Regions from separate parts of the Homo sapiens genome. Here regions 1, 3 and 4 are each linked to region 2. The links are contacts of gene promoters, found by promoter capture Hi-C in human tissues and cell types (Jung and others, 2019). All regions are on one chromosome and are shown on one strand. The core of a region is centred on a gene start or on the middle of the fragment in contact, and the rest is flanking DNA. Distances in the headings are between cores, read along the strand shown.

The links. Contacts are between HindIII fragments. The study calls those that stand out against the background at their distance.
Region 1: a contact is called between a fragment that was not itself captured here and the fragment with the promoter of MOCOS in region 2, in 3 of the 25 tissues and cell types used here (liver, neural progenitor cells and stomach).
Region 3: a contact is called between a fragment that was not itself captured here and the fragment with the promoter of MOCOS in region 2, in 2 of the 25 tissues and cell types used here (spleen and stomach).
Region 4: a contact is called between a fragment that was not itself captured here and the fragment with the promoter of MOCOS in region 2, in 4 of the 25 tissues and cell types used here (H1 embryonic stem cells, lymphoblastoid cells, mesendoderm cells and 1 more).

What each region holds. Positions count from the first base shown.
Region 1 is chr18:36,119,404-36,125,318 of GRCh38, reverse strand. SLC39A6 (solute carrier family 39 member 6) reads left to right here. Exons shown (of 10, transcript NM_012319.4): 3 at 619-799; 4 at 1,655-1,824; 5 at 3,049-3,267. Among named protein-coding and RNA genes, the nearest start is that of SLC39A6, 7.0 kb to the left of the region's middle. The HindIII fragment of the contact is 8,201 bases long and covers 1-5,915 here.
Region 2 is chr18:36,184,672-36,190,416 of GRCh38, reverse strand. MOCOS (molybdenum cofactor sulfurase) reads right to left here and starts at 2,920. Exons shown (of 15, transcript NM_017947.4): 1 at 2,736-2,920. The coding sequence starts at 2,877. It overlaps COSMOC (cell fate and sterol metabolism associated divergent transcript of MOCOS), which reads left to right and starts at 2,982. Exons shown (of 2, transcript NR_134605.1): 1 at 2,982-3,182. RefSeq lists silencers at 2,818-3,007, 2,853-3,116 and an enhancer at 3,876-4,698. The HindIII fragment of the contact is 25,317 bases long and covers 1-5,745 here.
Region 3 is chr18:36,302,349-36,307,664 of GRCh38, reverse strand. All of the region lies in intron 1 of FHOD3 (formin homology 2 domain containing 3), which reads right to left. Among named protein-coding and RNA genes, the nearest start is that of FHOD3, 7.3 kb to the right of the region's middle. The HindIII fragment of the contact is 6,751 bases long and covers 573-5,316 here.
Region 4 is chr18:36,257,426-36,262,695 of GRCh38, reverse strand. It overlaps MOCOS (molybdenum cofactor sulfurase), which reads right to left. Exons shown (of 15, transcript NM_017947.4): 13 at 2,521-2,659. Among named protein-coding and RNA genes, the nearest start is that of FHOD3, 38 kb to the left of the region's middle. The HindIII fragment of the contact is 5,571 bases long and covers 662-5,270 here.

The DNA.
Region 1 (5,915 bases), core at 2,070-4,569, 65 kb after region 2:
AGTATCTTCAAACTAAGTTTGTCATCTAATTAAATAGTTGAAAACATCTGCCTGCCGGTACAGGTTTGTTTTATTAACCAGCCTTGCCCTCCACAAGAATAATCTGCATAATTTAATATCCTCTCATTGCAGAGCATTACTTTGCCAGGTATGTAGACAGAACTGAGTTTTTGCAAGTAGAGTCATTACTAGAAGAGAGGCATGTCTTGGACTTGTTTAGGCCAAGTAGGATAGCGTTAGTACTGAAGCAACATATTTCTCAATCTCTGATGAGCCCCATTTTGAAATTAAAGCTCATTTCCTTAATACGTTTATACAGTGAGTTAACAGGCTTGTGAATCTCCATTTATCCTCATGCTTGTTCCACCTGAGGCTTTCTCCCTAGGTGACTCGTGATGTACTGCTTCTCTGATGAGGTAGAAGAGGTGGGATACCACTGTGGTGACATAGTATCGCCAGGTAGCTGGAGGCAAGTTCCAAAGTGCTCAAAACAGAAGTTGATTTTAATTTTCATTAACTCGAGAAAACGAAGTAGCATTAGTAAAAAAGGGTATTGTGTCATCAGACTACTCTAATGGGGATGGCTTTTGGTGATTTTCACTGCTTTGTTTCTTTCAGTGTTTCAATGCATCAAAGCTACTGACATCTCATGGCATGGGCATCCAGGTTCCGCTGAATGCAACAGAGTTCAACTATCTCTGTCCAGCCATCATCAACCAAATTGATGCTAGATCTTGTCTGATTCATACAAGTGAAAAGAAGGCTGAAATCCCTCCAAAGACCTATTCATTACAAATAGGTAAAATTGCCTTTTTTATGTAAAAACAATTTCAGTAGATTCATTTATATTGTGCTTTTCCTTAGATTTGCATCAGCCTATTTGTTTTCCAGTACAATTCTGAATATGTCATCTTAGTTGTTCTTTGCCTTGAATGTGAAGAAAGCAAGGAAGGGTGTTAGCCCTGCCCTTTAAAAAAAAATCCCAGAAAATAAAATTTCAATTATGACTTCTCTGGGTTCATCCTACAAGAAGGTGTCAGGATCACCTGAAATTTGGGATTTTTATATCATGTCACACTGCTTGGGAAGAGGTCTTGGGTTCATTTATGCTGCTTAGAAACCTAATACTGATGCATTCTTATTGATAAGTGAAGCTAGGATAGGCTCTGCTATAGCGTAGGGTCTCATTGCTCAAAAGTAATGAGGAAGGAATCACTGCTTTGTTTTCTGAGGACATTATTGAATTCCTGGTTTCTTCCTCTTCTTTTCTTTCTTTTCCTTTTTTCTTAAAAAAAAAAAATTCTTTTATCATTTAGCTCTTATGGGAGTCTGAAAGCTCAGTTCCTAAGTGAGCTACAGTTCATCCTTGGTAACCATTTTTTTTTCCTCTTTCACCCCGACCTGAAGAATTTCCCATTAGAGCTATGCTCCTTACCTGGAGAGTTCTTAAGTACCAGTCAGGTTGTTCATTTGAGCCAACAACAGATTTCTTGGTTATTGTGCTATTGCCACAGTAGGTCCTATTTGCATTGAATTTGTGTGTTTTTAGCTTCTCTCCTTTTACGTGTTGCTTTATGCTACTCTCCAAAAGTCTTTCTTGTAGAGTTTATTAGTTGTATAATTTTTCTTTGCTCTGTTTTGTTTTGTTTGACAGCCTGGGTTGGTGGTTTTATAGCCATTTCCATCATCAGTTTCCTGTCTCTGCTGGGGGTTATCTTAGTGCCTCTCATGAATCGGGTGTTTTTCAAATTTCTCCTGAGTTTCCTTGTGGCACTGGCCGTTGGGACTTTGAGTGGTGATGCTTTTTTACACCTTCTTCCACATGTAAGTATAGTAATTTGTCCTGTTAGTGTTTGATTATTCAACATTGAAAAAAAAATGTTTTGGTTTATGCTAGAATTTTTTGTATAAAATGTTAGAAATTTGGTTTAGAAAAGCTTATTTTAAAATATATTTGGTAAGTGAAAGCTGTATTTTTCTGCTCGATCTTAATACATTTGTGAATTTTGCTTTCCTTTTACAAAACACAGACTAATTTAACTTTTTGAAACCCACTTAATAAAAAGAGACAAATTCTGCCTGGCTATTAGTACTGTGATAGACTGCAGCAATGTGAGTTATCTGCTTTATCTGTTAGTGTAATTGCCAAGAAATAAAATATGTGACCCTTTATGTACCCAAGAAACTTGGAGGTTTTCTTCAGAGTTGAATGTTTATGTATGTATTTAAAGATTTACACTTCATGACACATAAAACAAGTTTGGTAAAGTGAATTTACTTTTCCATCAGATATTTGGAATAGATGCTCAGTTAAAAAATATGCGTGTTTCATTCTTTAAATTCCCATTAAAGGTTTTCAAGTATGTGGGAAAAGGAAATCACACCATACCTAGAGCACTACAAATCTCATGTTCCATTCAGTAGTTAAAGAAAACTATGTTGCTCTGACAAGCTCTCGGACCACCAGATGGCAGACATTCGGGAATACCTACTGATAGAAAGTGGCGTGTGTATGGGGTGTACTCTGTGATCCCCCAGTATCTTAGTGTGTTCCACACCCGATTCCCTAATGTGCAATAGCAGTAGTTACTACTCCACTCAGTTACAGGCTGCTAGGGCAGTGCACCTGGATCTCGGGTACATGCCAGGACCCAACACACACACACACTAGGCTTCTTACAATGCTAGTGTGATGACATTGGTATGGGCTTTTCAGTTGGGAAAATAAGCAGTAGAAACTGTGCACATTAAGTCTAGTATTCCTGTTATTTGTGGCCATGGTAATTCGTCAAGCATTGAAAATGCTCACTATTTATATATTATGGGGGTCACTGGGAATGTATCTGAAGTACATGACATGCATTAAGTTCTAGATAGCTAGCTGCTCATTGGTCATTTTATTTTTAATGTCCTAAACTTCACCTCATCTCTGAAGTATCTGAATAATTGCATAACTGAATGATTTCAATTTTGACCTTACCTAGCCAACTTTCTGACTCGGTGTGTGAAACTGATGAATTTATAAATAACAAATTATTTTGCCTTCAGTCTCATGCAAGTCACCACCATAGTCATAGCCATGAAGAACCAGCAATGGAAATGAAAAGAGGACCACTTTTCAGTCATCTGTCTTCTCAAAACATAGAAGAAAGTGCCTATTTTGATTCCACGTGGAAGGGTCTAACAGCTCTAGGAGGCCTGTATTTCATGTTTCTTGTTGAACATGTCCTCACATTGATCAAACAATTTAAAGATAAGAAGAAAAAGGTAAGAAAAAGTATACCGAGTACTTACTATGCTTCAGATATTTATTTATAGTAGTACTCTAACTAGATTGTTAGAATAGCATGCCCAGGTTGTATGAGCTTTATTTGAGAGGGAGTTCAGTACCCTTGAAGTACTTTTTGGTCCCAGAGATATTTATGAGGAGCATTTCTATATCTTAATAGCTCTGAAGTTTTCTGTCTTTGCTATTCTTTTGAAACTCATGACAGGATAAGAAAAGCAAGGATGAACATCTGTATAAGTGACCAGACAAGGTACCAGCAGGGCCTTGAAGACCAGAAGCATCGTGTATACATGGATACACTATCAATATTTATTAGTAGTTACGATTAACTAATGTCATTAATTTCCAGTCACCCAGTAGCTAAATGTTCTGTTTTCTTTTAAAGGGTATGTGACTTTTACAGACTTGCCCTTTGCAAATTGGATCAGAAATGGTATGAAGTCAAACAATAGGCTCTTTCTTTCTGGCCAAAAAAAACCCTTTTGAGTCGCCTATGGTAATTTGCCACTTTTTATTTGATGTGATCAGGCAAGTCATTCAGAAGACTGTCAGGAGACTCTTAAAAATGATGTGGGTCAGGTGGGGTGGTTCATGCCTGTAATCCCAGCACTTTGGGAGGCCAAGGCAGGCAGATCACTTAAGGCCAGGAGTTCGAGACCAGCCTGGCCAACATGGTGAAACCCCATCTGTACTACAAATACAAAAATTAATCAGGTGAGATGGCGCATGCCTGTAATCTCAGCTACTTGGGAGGCTGAGGCACAAGAATTGTTTGAACTTGGGAGGCGGATGCTGCAGTGAGCTGAGATTATACCACTGCACTCCAGCCTGGGCAATAGTGAGACTCTGTCTCAAAAAATAAAAAAAAAAAAAGAAAAGAAAAGTGATGTGTTCATATCTCAACATTTTAGTCTAACCTAATACATCTGTACACTCATATTCTGGTCACTTGATATTGACCAGGATTTTCTTCAAGTTGGAGTTCCGTATTCTGTATCGTTTCTTTTTTTCTTTATCAGCCATGCTGCTTCATCTATGATTTCCAATTTTGGTTTCTCTAAAATTGAACAAGAGATTACACACTTAAAGCTATTCTGAATGTAGAATCTAGGTTTTGGAAATTTAAAAAAAAAATTTATTCAGTGGTAGCCTTACGTAATTTGATATCTTTTTTTAGCACCTTGCCTTTGAATCTTCCAAGTATTCAGCTTTTGTGTTCACGGAATTAAGTATCCCCTACCAGGCACGGTGGCTCACGCCTATGATCCTAGCACTTTGGGAGGCTGAAGCAGCAGGATTGCTTGAGGCCAGGAGTTTGAGAGCAGCCTGGGCAACATAGCAAGACACTGTCTCTACCCCCCAAAAAAGAAGTAACTCCTTACCATCATTTCATAGTTTGAGCAATGTGTAATTAAATTGTGCAATTACAGTAATAAGTATAACTGGCGTGAAGAGGTTTCAAAACTAACACAGTTGATTTTTGCTGAGCATAGAGCTCACTGTGGGAAACAAATGCATGTGTAAACAGGAGAGTGTTTACATACTAGGAGTATTTGCTCTTAGGGATTTTACGTTCACTGAAATCTCAAATTAAAAATTTTGAGCCTTCTCTTTAGTGGACCTAAATATAGAGGGAAGAAGTAAAATAAGAATAGCTTATTTATTCTTAATCAAGGAAGTCATCTTCTGTGTTCCCATTGACGCAATTGCTTCCCTTGGACTGTTTCTTAATGTTATTGAATAGTTTCTAATCTCATTTAATTATCTCAAAAAGAAAAAAAAAAGCTACTCATTATATGGTGAGTACTGGGAGCTCTTCAGGCATTTTTTACTTAGAATTTTCCTTAAGAGAGCCATCTTGCACCTCTGGGAGATCCCATGTATCATAGTTTTAGGTTATCTGCCATATATGGACTAGTTTATTCCTACTTCTTTAAGTCTTCTGCAGTTTTTCTTACATTTAAAAAAAAGATCAGTTTTCATTCTGGGAGACTTGGGGATTGGGTTGTTTTCTTCTTTTTTTAACTGTACATCTGGGTCAAAATGTCATAATTTATTTAACATTCTCATTTCAATTTCATTTCCAAATTTTACCTAAATACAGCTTTTCTTTTTTTTTCTTTTTTTAAGAAAACAGTATCTTTTTTTAAGAGACAGCATCTTCCTCTGTTGCCCAGGTTAGAGTGCAGTGGCATGATCATAGCTCATTGCGCTTCAAATTCCTGGATTTAAGCAATCCTCCCACCTCAGCCTCCCAAGTAACTGAGACTACAGGCTCATGCCACCATGCCCAGCTAAGGATAGCTTTTCTTTAACTTAGCCCTCTTTAACCTAGGACTCCAAGAAATAGGCCCTCTGTTATCTGACACAGAATAATTTTTTCTTTTTTAACTCTAGGTTATAACTCTAGATTGTTAGTGAGTTGTAAAATCAATCTGTATGTCATAACCAATATTTTTAAATGCAACAATAATATTATATATTACTATTTTACATTACATATATTAATGTGGGTCATAGTCAGAGTAGTTTGATGCACTCTGCTTTAAAATAGTATCTACTAGAATGTAAGCTCTTAAAAGCCAGGATCTCTCTGTCTTGTTTACAGCTCTGTCTCCAATGTGTA
Region 2 (5,745 bases), core at 1,671-4,170:
AACTGCAAGGGGGAAATCCACCCCCTTGATCCAATCACCTCCTACCAGGTCCCTCCCCCAACACTGGGAATTACAATTCAACACGAGATTTAGGTGGGGACACAGAGCCAAACCATATCAAATGTATGAGCTAGTCCAAAAAGATACTTTTAAAACAATGTTCGCTTTTACTAAAGATTCAGAAATACAAAGGTACCAAACCAAAAGAAAGGCTTTTGTTCACCCAGGCATCAAGGCCACAGGTGAGACCTGGAAGCTGCTGGGGAGCATCTCACACTGTGCCACAGTCTTCTGGAGGGCCAAGTAGCTATTGGAGAAGAAGATGCTTTGGCTTTTGGTCCAATGGTTAATTTTGCAGGAAAAACAAAAGGGTGGGAAAGCTGTGTTAAATCACCCATAGATGTGATGTTAGGAGAAAGTCAGGCAGCATAGGGGTTAACAGTACAAAATCCAAGTCAATCAACCCAGACTTGAATCCTGGCTCCACCAGTAGCCATTCTGGGCCCCTGTTCTTTCATCTGCAGATGGGACAAAGGTTAAATGAGCTGCTATATGGCAGCATCCAGTCCAATGCTCGGGACACAGGTGTAGCTGTTATTAGAAACAGGTGAATTACCCCAAAGTTAAATGGCATCAGACCTTCTTCAGGAAAGAGAATTCCAGGGTCAGCTCTAGGTCATCCCCCTCCAGTTCTCTTTCCAGCATGGTGAGTGGTCATGATTCAGCACGAAGGCTTCCAGAGACCCTTGACACACATCCGTATATTCAATACTCTCCCTTCACAAAGGCAAGGAAGTTCCCATCCAAATCTTTAGGTAACACATTTCAGCACTTAAATCTTAAGCATTTAATTATTCTGAGCCACCACTTAACCAGAGTAATTCTCAAATTGGCAGAAAAACTTCATGAGGGGAGAGGAGGAACGAGGAAGAGGTGATGTTATTTTGGTTTGTTTTTTCCCGCCCTCTCTCTGTCTTGTTTCTAGGAGAAAAACAAGTGGACATGTTCCAAGACTCCCAGCAGTGGGAGGGGCGTCAGATTAGTGCACAAATGTCTGCTTTAACCGTAATGTAGAGGAAATACAAGGAACTTGCATTAAATAAAAGATGCCCACAACACTACCAGACATACAGTAAGTGGTAACGAGTTCTGAGGGCCAGCCTGGCTGACACATCCCAATTTTGCATTTGAGGGGAAAAGTACTGTTCTCTGAGGGACAAGAGTGAAACCAGGAGGGGACCAGAACATAGCTCTACTTTCCCAGGGTAGCATTGAGGGGAGAGGTTGGCCAATAGTGGGCGTGAGAGATCACAGCTGGAGGAGATTTAGGGGATTAAGGAGGTGCGGTGCTGATATAATTACTCAGGTAGCCTTGAAGAGTTGCTTCAAAGAATGGAGAGCCTCCCTCCCCAGCACCTGTAGGCATTCATAGTACCCCTCTATTTCTGAGTGGTAGGAAATTTCCATAATTAATAGTTGAGAGAGAGAGAGAGAGAGAGAATACGAAAGAAGGGTGAGGAGCTGTCTCCAGCAGGTGACCCTGCGAGAGGGAAGGATGAGGAGTGAATAGAGAGGTTGGCAGAAGGCACCCCCGTCTCCCTCCTGACTCTCCCTACTTAGGAAGCCAGAGGAGACACACAGGAGGAGGCCACAGTTCTCACAGCCCCCAAAGGGAAAACACAGTTACCCTCCACAACACCAGGAAGTGACCCGAAGCGCTGAAATCAGCTACCCGAGTAGTGAAACCTAAGTCATGGTTGCTGTTCTGCCCCCAGAAGGGGAGCAGTCACCAGTTGTTCATCGCGACAGAGCAGATACACTCAAACCCCGGTGCCCTGTGCCAAGACGTGCCCACTTCACCTGCACACCCTCCTTGACCATCCGGCACGCGGCCCTGGGGCTTGATGAAGCCCTGCACCCAAAGTCCCTGGCAGAGGGATGAGTCACGAACTTGGGCCCTGGCAGCAGAGGGCTGGGTCGGCCAAGGCCAGATGGAGCTTGATTTGCAATTTCATCAGCCTGTTCCGCTCTGAGGAAAGGCACGATGTGATCTTGGTGTTGTCTAATTCACAGGCTCGCCCTGTTCTTAAAGGTGAAATTGCACTGTTTGCTAATTCTTCTAGTCCCCCAGAGAACTGGAGCTCAGAGGGATTGTTCTGACGCTGTAAGAGTAAGGAAAATGAGGTTTCGAAAATCAAAGCTGAATACAGGCTATCCCAGAGGAGTCTGCAGAGCGCAGCCTCGGGAGGCCCCGGCCAAGAGGCCTTGGCCTCCCGGTCCCAACCTGGCGCGCCGTCAGAGGTGCTGTCCCAGCCCGGGCGCTGGCGGTCCACGCACCGCTCCTACCTCGGGAGGACATCCGAAGGGTCACGGCCGCTGGACATGCTGTCTTTTGCAACCCCGGCCCCAGCAGGCCCTTTACAGTGAGGGGTCTCCCGCAAGAGAGGGCAAGAACCATCCTAAGCCCCGCTCGCGGAGGGCGGGAAAAGGGGAAGACGGCTAGGTTGGTCCTGCCCACCGGAAAGTCGGAAGAGTAAGAGTAGCAAGAAGCCTTGGGGCTGCAGGTGGGACCTCAGGGAGCCGTGTCTACTAGGAGGACGCGTGGACACGTCCCTCCTGGAGTTTCGATTCAAAATGCGCCCGAATGAGGTAGCGCCGCTCTCACTAGGAGCAAAAGATCCGTCCACGTCGGTTCCAGAAACCTCGTGTCCCCCAAGCCTGCCCGCCCGCCTCACCTGCCAGGCGGCTGAACTCGCGCGCCCGCAGCTCGCGCAGGCTGCCCGGGCCGTAGCCGTAGGCTAGCCGCGGTGCGCTCGGGTCCCGGGAACCCGCGAAGGTCCACAGCTCCCGCCCTGACTCCGCCGCCGCGCCGGCCATGGCCCCGGCTAGTCCATCCAGGCCGGCCGGGCCCGGGAAGTGCGCGAAGCCGGCCCCCGGCGACTCCGCCCCCGCCACGCCTCCCAGGCCTCCAGCCTCCCAGTCTCTCGGAATCCGCAGCCTAGGTGTGGCGCCCCGACCGGACTTTCACTTCTGGCCAGCCCTTTCCCCACCTGGGCGCGGGAGCGGGTGCCAGTCTTTAAACAACCTCTCGATGGGTCCCACGAAGATGTTTCCAGACCCTTGGAATGCCAAGTTCAAGTTTAGCTATGTCTCGCGGAGAGGCCGGTGGAAGAAGCAACGAGGTGATCTTTCCTGCTTGGCATCGGCATCCTGGAACCCCGCGACCCTCCTCCTCGCAGGGGTCTCGGGACCCTCACCCTCTCAAGCGGGAACCGGCGTCTGGCGGGGGCGGGGGTGGGGGCGTTCTCGGGTTGCTGCTACCCAGCGGGGCGTGTGCTTGCCGTTTGTTAGAATGCGGCTGACCAAAGGGTAGAAAAGGGGAAAGATTAGGGATCCACGAGGCTAATAAATTCTCAGTGGCTGCACACTTTCGGAACCGGGAAGCTCGGGGGCTTCCCCCGGAGCGGGCCCTGCAGCTGGGATCCAAGTGAGCTGAGCTTCCCCGCCCTCCCAACCGCGTCCTGGGCCCTACTTCCTGCCCTTGCCTCCCCAACCCTGCATCCCGCCCCGCACTTCCCGCACGTGGGTGTGGCCGGGCCCTCTCTATTAAAGCAAGAGTGCCCTAGGACAAAGCCGCCCCTGTCCCGGACAGAGTGGAATAAGAGCGCCTCCTTCAATCCCCACTCGCGCCTGCACCCAGAGCACCTGGGACACAGCGGCTCTGTCTTGGAGAACAGGTGCCTCAATAGGGAGGGCCTGGCCAAACCTATGCGCGGGAAGTGCGGAGCGGGATGCAGGGGTGGGGCGGCAGGTGCAGGTAGTAGAGCCCAGGCATGCGGTTGGGGGGTGGGGGGAAATCTCACGTGCGATCCCAGGTGCGGAACCCGCTGCTGGGAATGGGGTGGAAGCAAAACAGGTACTGCACGCACAGGCGAGGTGCCTCGTGGGGGAATCGAATGTCAGGGATGGTGGACAGTGCGGATGGGCGGCAGGTGCTGGGGCTCAGGGGAGATAACTCAGAGGCAGGCTCGGTGGAGAACCCAAGGCCGGCGACCAGGTGCAGGCGGCCCACAGGCCCTGGAGGCATACAGCGGGGGGACAAGGTGGGAAGGAGGCCTATGCCCCAAGAGCTCAACCTGTGCTGCATCCAGGCCAGCTGCCACCCAGGGTATGGGCCGCAGATGCCCTAGGATCCTTGCTGATGCATGATGCATACCGGTGCCCAGCGTGAGAGCCATGGGAAGGCAGCACGCAGCCCTGGCTCTCCCGCCCAGGCCCCTGATACCAGGCCAGAGAAAGACCCGCCACTAAGAGCTCATTTCCCCCTGGCCGGAGACCCAGGGGTCTGTGGACTGCAGCGCTAGGGTCCATGCCCAGGTACCCATATTCCTCAGTGGCCTCTGCCCACTGACCACCCCCGCTCTCTCCCTCACTGCTGAATGTCCAGGACCTTACTCGACAAACACCCATAGTTGTTCGAGGAGGAGTTAATGTACTGATGGATGGATGCAGGCATTTGCTCATTGACATCACTGCCCACCCCACCATCTGCTTGCCTTCTGGCCATGCTTCAAGCAGGCACTTTGGATACTGGACTGTCTTCTGTGAATGTGGCTTTGGGCAGCACTAATAACAAGAGCTAGTTACAGGGCCTCACTGTGTGCCAGGCACTGCACTGTGTACACTCTTACCTGTCCTGGTCGTTCAATGATTAAATATGCAGATCTAGGAGGTGGCTCTTACAGATGGGGAAGCTGAGGCAGAGAGAGGCAGAATAACTTGCACACGGGCACACAGCTAGAAGACAAGCTAGCACCTGGGAAGTCAGTCTCCAGAGCCCAGGCAGGGAAGTGTGTTTTGCTAACTCTCTGGTGTGAGCCACCGTGGTTCCCAGGGCCTCAGTTTCCCCATCTAAGTTGAGAGGGGTGAGTTGGTCCTCCCAGCAGCTGTTCAGTGTGTCACTCCTCACCCATCCTTTTAAAGCCCTGCTTCCTGGTGAGAGTCTCCCCTAGGCCAGGGTTTCCAGGCATTCATTTGCATGAATCCCCTAGAGAGCCTATTCAAAGGCAGGTTCTGACTCTTTGAGGTTCTGTGTTTCTAAGTAGCCCAGGTGATGCTGATGCCCCATTCACGAATGGCACTCTGAGGAGGGAGGGCCTAGGTCATTTCCCTGGAAATGTAAGGAGAACCTCTCCTCAAGGAGTTCTACAGCCAACTAACAAACCACCAGTCCACAGGGGTGCTGCTTCAGACAAGCTCGCCTAGTGATGGATTGGAATAGGCCAAGTCAGTGCAGAACTCCTGAAGGTTATTAAAAATCACGGATCTACCATTAATCCAGAAATACTTTAAAGCAGTTGGCTATGCCCATCTAGGGCACTGTGTGCTTGGGAGGGTGGATGTGAAGATAGCACCTACAGCTGAGTAGGAAAATGAACCTACACTAGCCACAAGGCAATGTGGGCTGAGTGCCCAGGCAGCACTGGTTCAGGATGCAGGTATAGAATTGAAAGAGAGGAAGCGGCTACTTCCTAGCAAGATATCCAGGGAAGGTAGCCCAAAGGAGGAAGCCTTTGAAGTGGGCCATAGCAGTGAGCCAGTCAAGATGGGAGGAGGAGTAGGGAATGTGAGAAACACTGGGAGTCTTGGCCTCTAATTGGCACCCTTAGGTGCATTTCACCAAGATTCCCTGGGCCGCTCCTACCAGAAAGAGACTATCAGAAGTCAGATTGCTCGCTCTCACCC
Region 3 (5,316 bases), core at 2,699-5,198, 120 kb before region 2:
TTAAGTGGACAGCTGCATGGAACTACAGTGTGAAGATACTTTAGAGTACAAGACACATGCACATCAATAAACACATACTGATCTGAGTAATAAAAACAGTCCACATTACACAGCTTTCTCATGGGCATAAAACAGCTCTTTACTTCTGCCACCACAGGGGAAGGTAACAGGTGTGGCACTTCCAGCAGCCCCCGTAGACACTATCTGCAGGTTGTAGGTCACAGATCACTCCATGACCAAACCCTGGGGTCATGGTTCTTGTGGCTTATCCACCCTATTTCCATCCTCTTGGGCACAACCAATTAATTTTCAAGGGCCATGTCCATCCCCATCTGTGGAGATATGAGGACCATCGCTCCAAATACAAATTAGGGAAAAATGGACTTCTAAAAAATAAAGCTCAGGCCAGGCGCAGTGGCTCATGCCTGTAATCCCAGCACTTTGGGAGGCTGACGCGGGCAGATTACGAGGTCAGGAATTCGAGACCACCCTGGCCAACATGGTGAAACCCCATCTCTACTAAAAATACAAAAATTAGCCAGGCATGGTGGCGCATGCCTGTAATCCCAGCTACTTGGGAGGCTGAGGCAGGGGAATTGCTTGAACCTGGAAAGTGGAGGTTGCAGTGAACCGAGACTGTGCCACTGCATGCCAGCCTGGGCGACAGAGCAAGACTCCGTCTCAGAAAAATAAAAAATAAAGCTCAAAAATAGGAAAGGCTATACTCCAAGGCCGGAGGGCAACTGGTCACTATGATACATGAAGAAGTCAGGAGGTGCTCCTAGCAGAGGCTTTACACAAGGGACTTCTGCAAGGAAATGGCTGGGATGAGCAGACTATTCTTCCTCCCTTCTAACTCTAAATCACGGTTATCCTCTCACTCAGTAAATATTTACTGTACACTCACTATGTGCCAGACGCTGTTCTAGGCTCTTGGGCTGCACCAGTAAACAAAACAGATTTAAAAAAAACAAAAACAAAACAAAAAACTCTGCCTTCATGGAGAAGTGGACCAACTACTCGAGGACTTTGGAGTTTGCCCTGAATGGCAAGAGGGCTAAGGGAGGTTTGGAGCAGAGGAGTGATATGACCTGACTCTTATTTTTTAAATGTCTCTTTCCTCTTTGGCTGGTCACACAAGTTGGTTGCCTAGCCTGTTTCTCTATGTTAAGATCACTGAATGGAACATATCTGGTTCTAACTTTTCCTCTCTTTCCATTAATGGCTATGTTCTAAGGCAAGCAGGAAGCCTCCACCCCACCAGACATCATCAAGACCTACTGTAAACTACAGTGAGTAAGACAGTGCAATGTCAGCACACAAACCCTTAGACAGACAATGGAGCCCAGAGCCCAGAAACACACTCGAGGCTGTGGGAGTGAGGCACCTCAGAGGGGCCACTGTAGACTGTGCTCCGAGCCCTCCACACTCTCCACCACTTGGACACTGCAAATGTCCTCTCTGTTGGCTGCTCTCCCAGGGGCTCCAGCGCCCATGCCCTTCCAGCTGCAAGCACATATGTCATGAAATCAGAGGACCACAGCCACTAAGACTCCCAGAAATAAGTTTCCTCCTTATTGTTCAGAAGGGTTAAAAGCTAGGTTTCTAGGGTGTAGCACCCTTAACAATATTTCATTTTGCTTTCATTTAATCACACTACAGACAGAGGAGGGGGACAGTATTCTATCAACGACTTGTCTCAACCCCAATGTCACCACATGCTCATTTTCATTGACTCTGGGAGGGTTGAAGAAGGTGACCTCAAATCATAAATAAAACCAAACAATTGTTAAAGTGATATAAAATGCAATTGGTATAAACTTCTTTAGTCAAAATTGTGGTCAGTGATTGGCTGCAGGCTGTGTGTGGCTCTGGTTTAGCCAGAGGGACCCTCCTCCTCGTTTTCTCCCCCAAGGACCACCCCACTACTCAGAGTCTCCAGCCTGTCAGTGTCCAGCCATGCAAGCTGGTAGTGTTTGCCCATCAATTCATTTGCTATACACCCCAAGCCACTCTTTGGCTCTGATCAAGCAGTCAGAAGATGCCTTGGTTATCTTCTATTCTGAGAACTTAAAAAAATCTTGGGCTTGTCCCACACACTCTGGTTACAGCTCTGGCATTTCATTCTCTGCTATAAAAATCAGTGCATGATGAGGCACCTCAGCACCACAGGAGTTTCCTTCTTGGTTTTCTCTTCTTCAAGAACGTTAAAGATATTCAAAGAGAAACTAATTTGTTTCATTTTTGCCAAGTCTAGGAATACCTTTCTATATTGAACTGCAAGTTGTTTAACATTTTCCCTTTTTTCAAGTTGATCAAAAATTTTAAGATTTTCTTTTCTAACATTAAACTCTAAACATTTTTCCTTGGAGTCTAACATTTTAACATCTAGATTACAAAACTAACTGGTGAAGAGGAGTTGGATGTTTCCAGTTTGTAAATAGATACAATGTAGATTCCATTTGTTACTATGTGTCTCTAAAAACAGAGAAACTTCTGGGTATATATTTTGCAGATTGGTGATAATTTTTTTTCAAAAAATAATTGATCTTCCTCCCTCTTTAACAGTTAATTCATAAATAAGTTTATCTGCCCATAGAAAATCAATGTTGACTGTAATTATAAGGGTGCCAAGGTATACAACTTACATTTTCATGTACATTAAAGCATCACTGCCATTCACTGTAAACTGAGAACCTCTTCTGAGGCATACTGAAGGCGGACGCAGAGCTGGCTCACTGGGAACTGGACAACACCCCAGTGTGGCTATGCAGGCATGTCATGGGCATCAACAGCCTTAGGAAACTGAGTGCCTTTATATATTGTTATCACTTATTATAGCCTTAGCAACTTCACAGTTTAGTAATAAAAATTTAGGAGCATATACTGAAACCACAGGTATAATATCTCTACCTTAGCATTTCGCTTACTAAGCTAATAGTTTATGTAACTGACAATTGTTTACTTCATCATGGGAATTGATTGAGCCTAGAAAGACACCCTGAACATAAAAAGACAGATGCCCTACACTTGTTTTTCTAAGATTCTAAGGAGAACACAACAATCAGGGTGGGAAGAAAAGTATCATTGGAGGTATGAAAAAAAAAATCCACTGATGGTTAGCTATCTCAGCCATAGAAAACACACTCAGATCATACAGTAACACTTAATGAAAGAGCTCTGATCCCAAGGGGACTATTGGAATTGTAACCTAATTTTTTTAGCTCTTTTATTAAAATATTTCAGTATATGCACAAGTATAGAAAGTAGTATCATGAGCCCTCCCCACATACCTATAATCCAACTTTAACTCACAGTCTATCCTGTTCCATCCATATATTGACTCACCTACTTGTCTCTTATCTGGAATTATTCTGAAGCAAATTCTAGACATCATATAATTTCAGTATGTATCTCTGAAAGCCATAAACTGTTACTTAAACCTAACCACAATACTATTATCACACTTTAAAGTTAATAATTTTAATATTAAACATCACTGCTCACATGTTCAAGTGATCTCAAATATTTATTTTATAATGTATTTGAATCAGCATTCAATCACAGCCACATATTACCTTTGGTTGATGTATCTCTTTAATCTCTTTTCATCTAAGGTTTCCTTCCACCTTTTTCTTTCTTTTGCAATTTATTTGTTGGAGAAACTGTAATTTCTCACAATCTGGATTGCGCTGATTGGCAAAGCTTAACATTCACTGTAACTTAATTTTCCCCATTCTTTCTAACTTAGTTCAGAACAAAGCTCAGAAACAGTCCCCCAGCTCCCCCTTCACCCCCAAAAATCTTCTGATTGTCTCTCTAATGGAGCAGATGCTGACAAACCCAAGACTCTGAAAATGGCCAGCAGAGGAGGACCCAGCTATGCCTCTAAGCCAGCCACAGGCAACAGCAGTGTTATTGAGAGATGAGGTGTGGAGGTTGCCTGGAGCAGGTGATTGCTGTCCTCTGAAGACAGAAAAGTTCCCAAGTGTTCAAAAGTATCATCGTCAGAGAGAGATAAAATATGGAGAGAAAAGGAGGGTGGGGGAGGGCTGTTCCTGAGTTGGCCTCAGCATGTTAATCTGTTTTAAAGTCGACACTATTAAGAACTAACATTTCAGAGTCCAGAGTGGGAGGGCAATGGCAGTCCTGTTGTTTTCCAGAGGGACTCAGGTTGGAGTCCGAGGACAAAACGCATAGACACAGAGCATCAACCCTGGGAGGACTTGCCAGAGCACAACCACTTAAATCACAGCACTGTGACAGGCAGCCGCATGCAAAGGCAATGCAGTCAACCCTACCCCACCCCCATCTGCACAGAGAGCATGGGCTTTGCTGATTTTCTAATAATGGGACAGAGTTAACAATAGGATTTGGAGGAAAAAAAAAGATGACCTTAAATCTTAGCTCCTTCACTTAAACGCAGTATAGCCCTAGGCAACCTGCTTAACCTCCTGTGCCTCAGTTTCCCCATCTGTTAATTGGGGATTCCTCATCTGCCTGCCTGCTAGAGTTGTTGTGAGGATAAATAAAGCTATACATGGAGACCTACAGTGCAGCCTCCAGCATAAGTTCATGACATAGCAGCCCCTTCCTTCCCAAAGATTGATGCCAGTCTATTCCAACCCAGATCGTTGCAAGAGGCCATGACAGCACCTGCTGGATGTCTGGCTAGGTTACCGATATGGTCTGTGGCCATGCATGAAACAAAGCCAACTGACCCATGAAGGGTTCAATCCCATGATCCTGATCTCAATAGCAAGGCTCCAACCAACTGAGCTAATTACAGTGGAGTCAGATTTGATTCTGCTTACATGGAGACACTCTTAGCTGTTCATACAACATTCTTAAAACAGTGTTGTCCTAAGATACTATGACACAACACACTTGCCAAGTTTACTAATGATCTCATCTTTTAAAAATCTTAATGTAATGTAGCAAACAGATGTGTCCCTTAAGAGGATTAAGGTGGAAATTCATTAGTGCAATAATACCAGTGGATTTGTGTTCTAAAACTAACACCAATCAATCAACTTAGTGCACATTCTATCTTAGCACTACTTAGCTTCGAGGGAAACACCAGAGAACTGAACAGCCAGGTCTTCTCCCTCAGGGAAGTTATCTGAGAACAGGGGAGACAGTGAGAACCCCCATGTACTGAGAGCCTGACCTAAATCACCTGTAATCCATGCTGTTCAGACTGCAGTGTGCACAAAAATCACCAGGCCATCTTGGTGAAGCATGTGTTCTGATTCAGCAGGTCGGGGGGGAGGGGCGGTGGCAGCACCTGAGTGTGCATTTCTAATACAGCCCAGG
Region 4 (5,270 bases), core at 2,198-4,697, 72 kb before region 2:
GAAATCCCATCTCTACCAAAAATAAAAAATTTAGCCAGGTGTGGTGGTGCACGCCTGTAGTCCCAGCTACTCAGGAGGCTGAGGCAGGAGGATTGCTTGAACCTGAGAGGCAGAGGTTGCAATGAGCCAAGATTGCACCACTGTACTCTAGCCTGGACAACAGAGTAAGACCCTGTCTCAAAAAAAAGAAAGGTGCAGTATTAACCATATCTTATGCTCTTTAATGCTCGTGCTGGACTAATGCATATAGCTATTATTGATTGACTGATTGACTGACAGGATCTTGCTCTGAGACCCAGCCTAGAGTACAGTGGGGCAATCTTGATTCACTACAGGCTTGAGCTCCTGGGCTCAAGCAATCCTCCCACCTCAAGGAGCTGAGACTACAGGCGCACATCACCGTGCCTGGCTAATTTTTCGTGTGTGTGTGTGTGTGTGTGTGTGTAGAGAGAGACGAAGTCTTGCTATGCTGCCCAGGCTGGTGAAAATAATTTTATACTTATTTTAATACTTGTATTAGCGTTTCTATGGGATAGATTTCTACAAGTGAAATTATTGAGTCAAAGGGCATGCATATTTTGATTTTTACTAGTTGTGGTCTATTAAGAATGGTGACCTAAAGAAAGCAAAGCCTGCTAAGTCATCTCAGAAAGGTTCCTTAAAGAGTCTTCCTTATATTTATGTCTCGAGATACCTGGAGAGGCACAGGTGCTACTGTTGCCAGGTAAGTTTCTGAGAGTAATCTCAGTCTAGTTCTAGTTCTCTTCCCTTTTTTTTCTTCCTTTCTTCCTCTCACTCTCCACCTATTTGATAATGTATATTTAGTGTCTATTTTGTTCCCAGCAGGATGTGTAACAGTAGGCATTTTTTTAAAAAACATGGCAGAGACACAGGGATAGAAAATAAGGAAGAGTAAGTAAGGATGGAGGGATGAGGGAAACGGCAGGAGGGCTAGTGCCTGAGATGGGCTTGTGGGAGAGAATGTAGGACATAATATAGATTGCTTGTCAAGGGGGAGCCACTGTCAGGGTAAGAGGAAGTCTAGGGAGTTAAAAACATCAAAAACATCATTGGAACATTTTATTGTGCCATGCAATTTATTTCCTATACCCCAGATCTCTAAAATTCTTTAATAAAGATTCAAATGACTGTTTACTGCTTTCCTAGATGTTAGAGTGGTGTTCCTTCTGAGTGCAGAGCCTGAATACAAGGTAGCTCGTTATAGTCAGTTTATACCAGTGGCTAATTACACTACCACAGGTTGAGTATTCCTTATCCAATATGCTTGACACCAGAAGCATTTTGAGATTTTTTTTTTAATTTTGGAATATTTACATTATATATCTCTGGTATACTTAACCAGTTGAGCATTCCTAATTTGAAAATCTGAAATCCAAAATGCTCCAGTGGTCATATTCTTTGAATGTCATGTCAGTGCTCAAAAAGTTTTATATTTTAGAGCATTTCAGATTTCAGATTTTTGGATTAAGGATGTTCAGCCTGTATTATAAAAATAATTTCAGCCCCCACTAAAGAACAGAGCACATTCTCTGGCATTAGATATTCCTTATCTCTTCTGTCCATTTCTTCCCTCAACAATTACTTATTGAGCACTGACTCTGGGCCAGTGTCATTCAAGGCCATAGAGGTACAGCAGGGAATAAAACAGACTTGGTCTCACCCTCCCACACACTGCAGGAATAAGCAGAACGTGACCCTGCGGCAGGTCAGGGGCATCCTTTCCAAGAAGGTGACATCTGAGCTGAGACCCTTGGACAACATGCTAAGCAGAAGGGATGGCAAGGGCTAAGGCAGGAAGGGTGGCTGTTTAGGGAACAGAGAGAAGGTCACTGTGACGGAGGCAGAGAGGGAAGGGGTGATGAGCTCAGAGACAGTGGCAGCATGGGATCTCGTAGGGCCTTGTCAACCATGTGAGGAGCACAGATTTTAGCCTAAGACCTTTCGCCTCTTTCTCATATCTTTGAAGCCCATAGCCAAAGGTTTTGGGAGTCCAAAGCCAGGGACAGAGGACATCGTGGTGGCTTTGCCTCTGACAATCTCCTTCCCAGCCACCAGCAAAGGCAGAAAAGGTGAAGCGTGTGGAAGAGTGGGTGGCCATGGGCAAAGAGGCACCGCCAGGCTTCTGGGCCTCCCTCCACAAGCTCCAGACTGCCACAAAGTCCAACAAGTTTCAGGAGGATGACAGTCTCATGACACAAGCATTCCAAAAAACCAGAGTTTAAGTCTGGACATAACGACAGCACAGAGGCAGTGTCGAGCCCTCGCACACCTTCTGTGGTGTGTGCGAAACTGACTGCTACCATCCTCTTGGGAAATAAAGGATGGATTATTCCATGGGGTGTCTTAGAAGGCTAAGCTTACATAACCTCCCACCAAGATTTTGTAGTTAAGAGACAAGGACTGGGAGGGAGTCCCACCTGCAGCTATCCAGGTCTGGGATTGAGGTCAATCTTCATTGACAACCCTGGAGGAAGGATAATAGAACTTCCCCAAACTTACCTGGAAACGCAAAGAGCCAATTGAAATCTCATCCCATTTCTCTTCTTCAAAAGCCCTTTTTCCATTGATAATAATATTGGCACGAAAACGCAAGCTGAGATCCTTCAGTGAGAATAATTCCTCCTTTCCATTCTCATCACTGATTAAAGCAACCAAAAAGAGTAAGTAGGGGGAGGATGGCAGATAATTGTACCACTATAATAATTCATCATGCCTGCCATGTAACACCTAACTTCATCAGCTCTACTGTGGCCTGTGCCCTGGATAATCAAAACAGACTTTTACCATGAGTGCAAGGCCAAGAGACACCCATCTGCTAAACAGGCATCAGGGCCTCCCCTGGGATACGGTCCCATCTCCAGTGAGAGTCCCACAAGAGCCAGGCAAAGGGCGAGCAGATCTTAGCTGAAGAGATGAAGGACTTTGGAAATCAGAAGAACAGAACTCCAGTGAAAAAGGAACTTCTGAGAACACACCAGTTCTATAAGGTGGGGCGGCATAAGGCATTTAAAAACCTGTCAACAGGCTTAATGATCAAAGACCTAAGAAGCACTGAGATCTCATTCCCTTTTTTCCCCCTTCTTTTCACAGGTGTTGAGATCTCACTCTTTTTTTTTTTTTTGGGTATTAAAACATTATAAATAAAGAAGATAGTATTTCCTAATTTCCATTCTATTTGCAGTGTAACATCTGCTATTTTTCTGATACCTTTTTTTTTTTTTTTTTTGAGACAAGGTCTTGCTCTGTCACCCAGACTGGAGTGCAGTGGCACAATCTCAGCTCATTGCAGCCTTGACCAAGATCCCAGGCTCAAGTAATTCTCCTGCCTCAGCCTCCCAAGTAGGTGGGACTACAAGCATGTGCCACCATGCCCAGCTAACTTATTTTTACTTTTTTTAGAGATGGGGTCTCACTATATTGCCCAGGCTGGGTTTGAACTCCTGGGCTCAAGTGATCCTCCCACCTCAGCCTCTCAAAGTGCTGGGATTACAGGTGTGAGCCACCATGCCTAGCCTATTTTTGTAACTCTTATTTTTGTAATTTTTATTTATTGCCATGAGGTTCCAAAAAAAATGGCCCTCTGCACCCCCCACCCCCACCCAGAAGAACGCACTGAAAATACATCTTAAAACTTCTCTGACAAAAGAACACATCCTGTATGATCCCACCATATTAAGTTGAAGAATGGGTGAAACTAGCTATGGTGAAAGAAGTCAGAATAGTGGTGACCTTCAGTGAGGCTGACTGGGATGGGATACAAGGGAGGTTTCTGGAGTACATTCTTAGCTTGATCTAGGTAGTGGTAGTTGCTGGTGAAGATCCAAAACACTTAATGTGTTTATCAGCAGATACTTTGCCTCATTCAACAGAGGAAGGGTGGCTGTTGTACCAGGAGATTGATCTGAAAATGATGGAGCATAGCCGTATACATCTGTAAAACTGTATTTAACTGTGTACTGATGACTTTTGCACTTTTTTGTGCTTCAATCAATTTTTAATTGCTTAAGTTGGTGTGAGGTAAATCCTCAGGCATGGTTAGAGTATGCGCCAGAGACAGGGTTGAAAGACTATGGGGTTGGGAAGGAGGAGTCCCAATCTCCTTTGAATGGCAAACAACGTATGAAAAGCCAGAGACCGGGATACCTGAGTCTGGTTTTGCCACTTACTAAGGGCAACTCCCACAACCTATGAGGACCACAATTTCCTCATCTGCAACAAGAGGATTAGCACTTTTCCAGTCCTCAAATCCTTTGATTCTGGATCAACTCTCTGGGTTATAAACCCTCACTTTGGGCTTCGTAAAAGGGCATGTTTTATGTCCAAAAGCTATCATGGTTAACATGTGCATGATAGAGTCCCTCAAATTTGCAAATAAAGCACAGAGAAATACCTAGCAGGGGACCCTAGCTCTGCTCTTGGATCAGCTGCCCAGCGGGTCCACCCTGCTATAAACCAGATGGTGGGGAACGTGGCCCCTCCTGGTAGGAACTGGGGTGACAGCAAGCCTCTCCCCACCTCCTATCTTTCCACACGAAGAACCCCAAAAAACTGCAGACCCACTTTTTCCAGGACTCTGGATGCCTGAGGAGAAGGGTCCCTCAGTGCCAGAAGAACTCAGTGAATACCCAGAGAACATGTGGCTGCATCACACTTTTGCTCTCAAAGATAGCGAGCTGGGCCACAGTATGAGAATGATGTTGTATATTTTCAACAATGGATAGAAACAAGAGTGACTACAAATAGCCCATCCCTGCAGAGGCGGACGAGGTGGCTTAGTCAGCTTTATTAAACTGTATTTGTATGTCTTTGCAAATATGTATGTGTGTGTACTTGACCACGTGGTGCAAGACAGTCACAGGACCCCCAGTTCACAGTGCTGTTAGGGGTGAGCCACTAACAACACTCATCTCTGGCCTGTGGACCAGGAATGAGGAGCCCGTCCCAGTCACCCTGTGGCATGAGAGCTGGGTGATTTTTCCTCATTGCCTGGCTACCTTGGGACTTCAGTTTGCTCTAAAGAACAACGAGAGGGTTGGCCCAACCATGACCCTTTCTGGAGCTGACCTCCCAATGCTGTTAGGGTCCTTGGGAGAGCACTGGGTGGGAGTGGGCAGGGAGGGGTGCTAATTCCATCTGTGGTGCATCTTTCAAATAAAGTGTGCCTGCAATTACAACTTTAAAAGCTTTCATAACCACTCTTTTTTAGCCTTTAAAATGACTGTGTGAAGTAGGGCAGAGATCCTCGGGGA